Linked DNA regions of Homo sapiens: region 2 is linked to region 1. Evidence: promoter capture Hi-C in human tissues and cell types (Jung and others, 2019). All regions are on one chromosome and are shown on one strand. Each heading gives the region's core, a stretch centred on a gene start or on the middle of the fragment in contact. The rest is flanking DNA. Distances are from core to core; before and after follow the strand shown.

Evidence for each region. The method cuts DNA at HindIII sites, captures the fragments that hold promoters and counts their contacts. A contact is called where the count stands out against the background at its distance.
Region 2: a contact is called between a fragment that was not itself captured here and the fragment with the promoter of LSM6 in region 1, in 1 of the 25 tissues and cell types used here (hippocampus).

The regions. Positions count from the first base shown.
Region 1 is chr4:146,174,157-146,177,592 of GRCh38, reverse strand. It overlaps LSM6 (LSM6 homolog, U6 small nuclear RNA and mRNA degradation associated), which reads right to left and starts at 1,875. Exons shown (of 4, transcript NM_007080.3): 1 at 1,782-1,875. RefSeq lists a silencer at 1,666-1,725. The HindIII fragment of the contact is 5,524 bases long and covers 1-3,436 here.
Region 2 is chr4:147,590,712-147,594,147 of GRCh38, reverse strand. All of the region lies in intron 3 of LINC02507 (long intergenic non-protein coding RNA 2507), which reads right to left. Among named protein-coding and RNA genes, the nearest start is that of LINC02507, 23 kb to the right of the region's middle. The HindIII fragment of the contact is 8,929 bases long and covers 1-3,436 here.

The DNA of each region.
Region 1 (3,436 bases), core at 626-3,125:
TAAAGAAATCTCCAAGGTACCGCAAATGATAACCAAAAGCTACATTCTAACCAAATGATGGAGTGTAGGTTATAATTAATCAGGGGTGTTTTATTCTAACATATAGGGAACCTGAAAACAACTGTCAAAATCTTGAAGGGGTTGCCATTCTAAATAATGGATTTCTAGTCTTGGCCATGAAAATGATCACTTTCCAATTTTTCAGTGTTACAGGTCTCTCCGATGATTAAAATCTGTTAGTACACTTTTAAAAGGAGAGAATAACCCAGGTGATGTAAACAAATTTTTAAATTCTAGTATCTACTATGCCACAGTTCAGTGAGAGACTGCCTGATACAGCACAGAGTACTCACTTGGGAGGCAGGAAACCTGAGTTCTAATCCCAGCTCTGCTACTTAATTAGCTGTGTGACTTGGATAACTCATAATTTCACTTCTCATGGCCCCAGGTTCCTCATCTGCAATATAAGGGAGTTATGCCAGATGACCACTTAAGTCTCTTCCTGCCCTAACATTCAGGTAGTCTAACGCATTAACGCCAGTGACACACACACACACACACACACCACAAACACAAGCCTCTCAAGATTTCTGCACAATATTTAAGCAAGTAAAATTACCAAACATCTCTAAAACTTTTTTGGAAAACACTGCAGCAATGTGTATGAAGGCCTAAAACAGACCTTTCAGATGACAGCATCTAATCTGATAATTTCACTTCTGAGAATCTAGTCCAAGGAAATAATCTAAAAAATAGGGGGAAAAGAGTTTATCAAAGCACTATCTGGGATGCTAAGATGATGTAAAAATTCAAAAACAATCTAATGTCCCACAATCGGGAAATGACTGAATAATTTACGGGACCTAAACTGGGACCCACAATGATAGGACAATCAAAAGAAGATACAAAATTAGAATAATATTTAGGAAGAGTTTTTAAATGGAAGTGGAAAACTACACTGTTAAGTGATTAAACATGTACACTCTTAGTTCAAGTAGAAGCTAGCACATACAAGAGAAAATGATCGTAGGTGAAAGGGTTCAGTGAATATTATTTTCTTCACTAAAGTCTTCTATGTTTGCAATTTTCTACAATAGTCACGTATTACTAAGAGCAGTGGGGCAGGGTAATCCGCATCATCTTAATCCTACACACCTTAAAAATGCCTGCTATGCAGGTGTGCGGACACGCATACGCACAGAAAACCTTGGGCGATAGGACTTAAGACCATACAATCGGGTTCCTCGACCTGACAACTTGGTAAGACAGGCGAGTCCAGCCTTTAATTCCTGTGGTCAGGCGCAGCCACCCCGATGTAGGAGAGGGTTCGCAATTCCCTGAAGCCCTCCTGGAAGACAGGCGAAGCCTAGGCCTGGGTTCGGGATCCGCTTTCCCGCCGAATCTTGGGATTAGCGTCGGGGCTCCCTGGGGAACTTCAACAACCTGAATTGATCTCGGACGCCAACTCGGTAGGAGCCGGGACGGTGCCGCTCCTCTCCGCGCAGTCTAGGCGCCTCGCTGAGGGCGGTCCCGGCGCCCACCATCAGACCTCTCCCAGCCATTCCATGCGCGGAGAGCTTGGACGCGGCATTTCGCGGGGACCCGCCACCCAGCGGTCCCTTCCCGGAGCCCCAGCCTGTTCACCGCAGGCCCTTTCCGGGGCTGCCTCGCCCGGCCTAGGGCCGCTGCAGCCGCCGCTCCACAGCGCGACTGAACACTGGGGCACCGAACCTGGGGCTGCGCCCGGCCCCGTCGTCGGCCCGCGCAGCGGTGCGGCTCACCTCGCCGGCGGGAACCAGAACCCTCACTCCAGGCGCCCCACGAGCCCGGCCGCCGCGGATGATCCCAGCCAAAACCGAAAGCGCCGAGGCAGGGGCACTTTTCTGCCTCAGCCAATCAGTGCTCTTCTCTGCTACGGCAGCCCGCTGGGGCCGAAAAAGCCTGTCAGCACCAAAGCGCGCAAATCCAAGATTCCTGGTTTGTCTAGTAGCAAAATTGGTGCAGTGGAGTTCCTCTAACAGAAATCTGAGTACAAAACAAATACAATACAAAACAAAAACAAAATTCCAGGAAACTAGAAGTGATCTTTTGGGCAGGATTTATTTACAGAAGTGTAAAAAATAACTTGAAGTCATAGGAAACTGGAATTTACTGTTTAAGTAACGGCATTGTGTACCCAGAAACGTCCTTGAATAGTTTAAAGCAAATAAATAAATAAATGAAACACCTCAAGTCTTTAAATCTACCTCTGGATATTGATTAAATGTGTGAAGACTTAAGCCATTTTAGCAAGAGACTGTTTCCATGGCAATGTTAATTGATACAAAAATAATCAAAATCACTCAAGTAACTCCAAATTATAATGACATTAATTGTGTTACATTACTAGTTCCTATTGGAAATGGTGTGCAGACTTATTTCAGTGCTACTATGGGAACTTGGTTTGGAATTTTGCATGAATTCTCAATACTCTTTCTATTAATGGAATTGAAAGGGAAAAAGAAGAGAACTGTTACACCAGGACTTGATTCGTTTTTCCCCCTCCACATATACTCTCATCAGTTGAAAACTTATACTTTAATTATATTTATGATTTGTAACACTATACACAGAGTGATAAGATCTTTCAACACAGATCCTTAACCCCATTAGGTGTTATAAAATCTAAGATGCAAAATTTTTTTCGAAGATAAAGAGTTCCTCCCTTGTAAACTTCTTTTGGTTAAAGGCAGAAGAAATGAACTTTTGATTGATATCAGGGACAGAAAACAACTGGATATGATTTGTTAAAGAATAGAGACTTCCTTATATCCTTCTATAAAAGTTCAGTTTGGATAAAGACCGAACAGTTACTGATTTATTGTGAGGGCTGTATTTGAAGTTCTTGCAATATAAAATACAATGTAAATAAAAATTTTAAGAAAAGTACCATTTAAATCAAATAATTACGTGCAAAGAACAAACATAATAGGATAAAAAGCCCTGTTCCTAAAAACTTTCTTTGCAAACGACATCAAATTGCACATTCCTTACTGATTGTTTAAATTATTAAAAAAAAAAAGAAAATTTTTGATTCAAACTTCTTTCCCTTTCCTACAGAGCCCTAATCGAGCCGTTAACACTAGTGTGGTGGGTAGGGAGCCATGAGGAGTTTTAAGGGCCTAGTTCATCTGCTGAGCAGCTGCAACCTTCTCTAAGGGGAGTAGCTGGGTAAGGGCCCAGTTTGACACACGGGGTGGGCATCCTGAATTAATTCATGAGCTAACAAGCTTATAAAAAGTGTGGCTGTTCCCAAAAGCCCCTCAGCAGCTTATAAATGACTTTTACTAACTCACAAGGCAATTTTCCGTATTTCCCAGGTTTTTGCTTTCAGCATCTTTTATGATGCAAAGAAAACACTGCAAGACTTTTGGTGAATACTAGTCTTCAAAACCCT
Region 2 (3,436 bases), core at 275-2,774, 1.4 Mb before region 1:
ATATTATAGATATTTAAAAATCATTTTCATGGGATATACTTAGAGTAAAAAATTGTTTATCTGAAATTTAAATTTAACTGAACATTCTGTATCCTACCTGGCAGCCCTAATTCAGGGGCTTGCTTGGGGGATAAAGGTGGAGTAAACTGTCTTCTTTTATTGAGTACTTACTATGGGTCCAGAGTGAGATTTATCGTGGGAATGCAGAATTAATGAATAAGTCTCCAGACCCTGCCTTGCCCCTTGAAGTTGTAATTAGATTTGAAAGAAAGATGTGTGTAGAACTGCTTTGAAAATGATAAATGCTGCACAAATGACAAAGAAGTATTCACTTTTAAAATGTATTTTTAAAAACACTAGTAGTGTGTCTAGCATAGTAGCTGCTCAATGTTTGTCATGTCAAACTGAATTATTATTATGATTTTTTTATTCTTTTATTTCTATTATATTTCAATAGTTTTGAGGGAAAAGGTAGTGTTTGGTTGCATGGAAAAGTTCTTAAGTGGTGATTTCTGAGATTTTGGTGCATCTGTCACCTGAGCAATGTACACTGTACCCAATGTGTACTTTTTTATCCATTGGCCCTCTCCCAACCTTCCCCCTGAGTCTCCAAAGTCCATTATATCATTCTCATGCCTTTGCGTCCTCATAGCTTAGTTTTCCATTCCTGTTTGGTTTTCCATTCCTGAGTTACTTCATTTAGAATAATGGTCTCCAACTCCATCCAGGTTGCTGCGAATGCCATTATTTTTTTCCTTTTTGAGGCTGAGTAGTTATATATCCCACATTTTCCTTATCCACTTGTTGGCTGATGGACATTTAGGCTGGTTTCATATCTTTGCAATTGCGAACTGTGCTGCTAGAGACATGCGTGTGCAAGTGTCTTTTTCTTATATTGACTTCTTTTCCTCTGGGCAGATACCCAATAGGGGGATTGCTGGATCAACTGGTAGTTCTATTTTTAGTTCTTTAAGGAATCTCCACACTGTTTTCCATAGTGGTTGTACTAGTTTACATTCCCACCACTAGTGTAAAATGCACTCTTTTCACCACATCCACACCAACATCTGTTATTTTCTGATTTTTAAATTATGGCCATTCTTTCAGGAGTAAGGTGGTATTTCACTGTTGTTTTGATTTGCATTTCCCTGATAATTAGTGATATTGAACTTTTTTTTCATATGTTTGTTGGCCATTTGTATATCTTCTTTTGAGAATTGTCTATTCATGTCCTTAGCCCACTTTTTGATGGGATTATTTGTTTGTTTGTTTTTTTTCCTTGCTGATTTGTTTGAGTTCCTTGTAGATTCTGGATATTAGTCCTTTGTCAGATGCATACAAACTGAATTATTATTATGGGCAAATAATACTATTATTTGTTGATTACTGTCATGAGACTCAGGCAAGGTTGTTTTAACATCTCCCTAGGTCCTAGATCCATGCTTATTTTTGGAGTCTTGCTTCATATTATTCATATTAAAGTGAATATTCATATTATTCATAATATTCATATTAAAGTGAATATCTCACACTAATCAAGGGAAACATATATATATTGCTTAAGCATTTTTTTGACAGAATTTAAGAATTTTAAAATTTTTTAGTTTTTGAAAAGATTTAGCTGTGACTTATTTAAGATTAGCTTTGATTTCTTAATTCAGGAGGGTAAGAAGGTCCATGAACTTGGATGAAAAAAATCTGTTTTCATTAACTTCAAACTGAAATTTGTAATTTTATTTATTAAAGAATATAGGCCATACATCACATTAATATTAACAATATCTCTCTCACCAATAGAAACAATAGATATATTCATGTCACATTACAGGGATTACGAATATCCCAAAACATCATTTATACTAATTGCTACTTTGAATATATAGTTGTGACATTGTTATTAAATCTTGTTATTAAATGCATTAATAAATAAGCACATATTTACAAATTAGTATTTTAAAGTTTTTTTTTTTTTTTGAGATGACTCTTGCTCTGTTACCCAGGCTGGAGTGCAGTGGTGCAATCTCAGCTCACCACAACATCCGCCTCCTGGGCTCAAGAGATTCTCCTGCCTCAGCCTCCCAAGTAGCTGGGATCACAGGCGTGTGCCACCACACCCAGCTAATTTTGTGTGTGTGTGTGTGTGTGTGTGTGTTTAGTAGAGATGGGTTTTCACCATGTTGGCCAGGCTGGTCTCAAATTCCTGACCTCAGTGATCCATCCACCTCAGCCTCCCAGAGTGCTGGGATTACAGTCGTGAGCTACTGCGCCCGGCCGAGTTTTTAAAAGTTTTTTGAAAATTTTATTTTAAAATAGTTGGCTTTCTTTGTGGGGCATTTTAAAAAAGTTCCAGGAGCTTCACTTAGGCTTCCAAAGGGATCTATGGCACAAAAGTGGAAAAGATCCCCTGCTAGGGCCTCGTGGGTAAAACAGCCTGGGGCTCAGGCTATGGGTCACTCTCGCCTGGTATTTTTTCTTTGTTCTTTTGTAGAAAATAGTGGGGACTTAGCAGGCTCAGGAGAGTGCAACTGCAGGCAGAAACAAGAGAAAGTTCAAAATATGTCTAAACTTTACTGGAAGATTTACTGGTTATCAAGTCAGAAGACTTTGGATCCAGTCCAGGCTTACCTTTAATATTCTCACAGTAGATGCATTTGCTCATTGAATCAGCCAATCTTTAAAAAGGGCCTATCACCAGCCTGACCCTATGCCTAGGCATTGGAGCAGGCAGGCCCAGGGTTGAGTCCATTCTGTCACTCACCAGAGGAGTGACCTTGAACAAGTTATTTCATATCCTGAAGCCTCAGTTTTCTAATCTGTAGAATGGAGATACTGATTCTGAATTTAACAGGGTGGTTGAGAGGATTAGATAAGATGGGTGTAAAGTACAATAAACACAGAGAAGATTACAGTTACTATGAATCACCATTTTGTCTATAAACTCTTGCATCAATGTGCTGCTAGTTGTCAAAGAAAAGCATATAAAACAGTCTTCTCTTGTATCACTGATTAAATATTTTTTTCTGTTAATGTTTTTGAAGCATTGTTTAGAGAACTGTAAAAGTAGTTAAAAAGAGGAAATATGACTGAAAATTCATATTCCTGAAAATATATGAATGTTAAAAATTGTATCAGGTGATATAATGACTCATCAATAACCTTACTAGATTATTTATTCTTAAAAGATATATTTGGTCAGGCGCAGTGGCTCACGCCTGTAATCCTAGGTCTTTGGGAGGCCGAGGTGGGCGGATCTCTTTGAGTTCAGAAGTTGGAGACCAGCCTGGGCAACATGGTGAAACCCTATCTCTACAAAAAAATACAAAAGAAAAAATAAAAAAGAAGTGGGTGTGGTGCCTCGTGCCTGTGGTCCCAGCTACTCGGGAACTGAGGCTGGAGGATGGCTTGAGCCAGAAAGCGGAGGTTGCGGTGTGAGCTC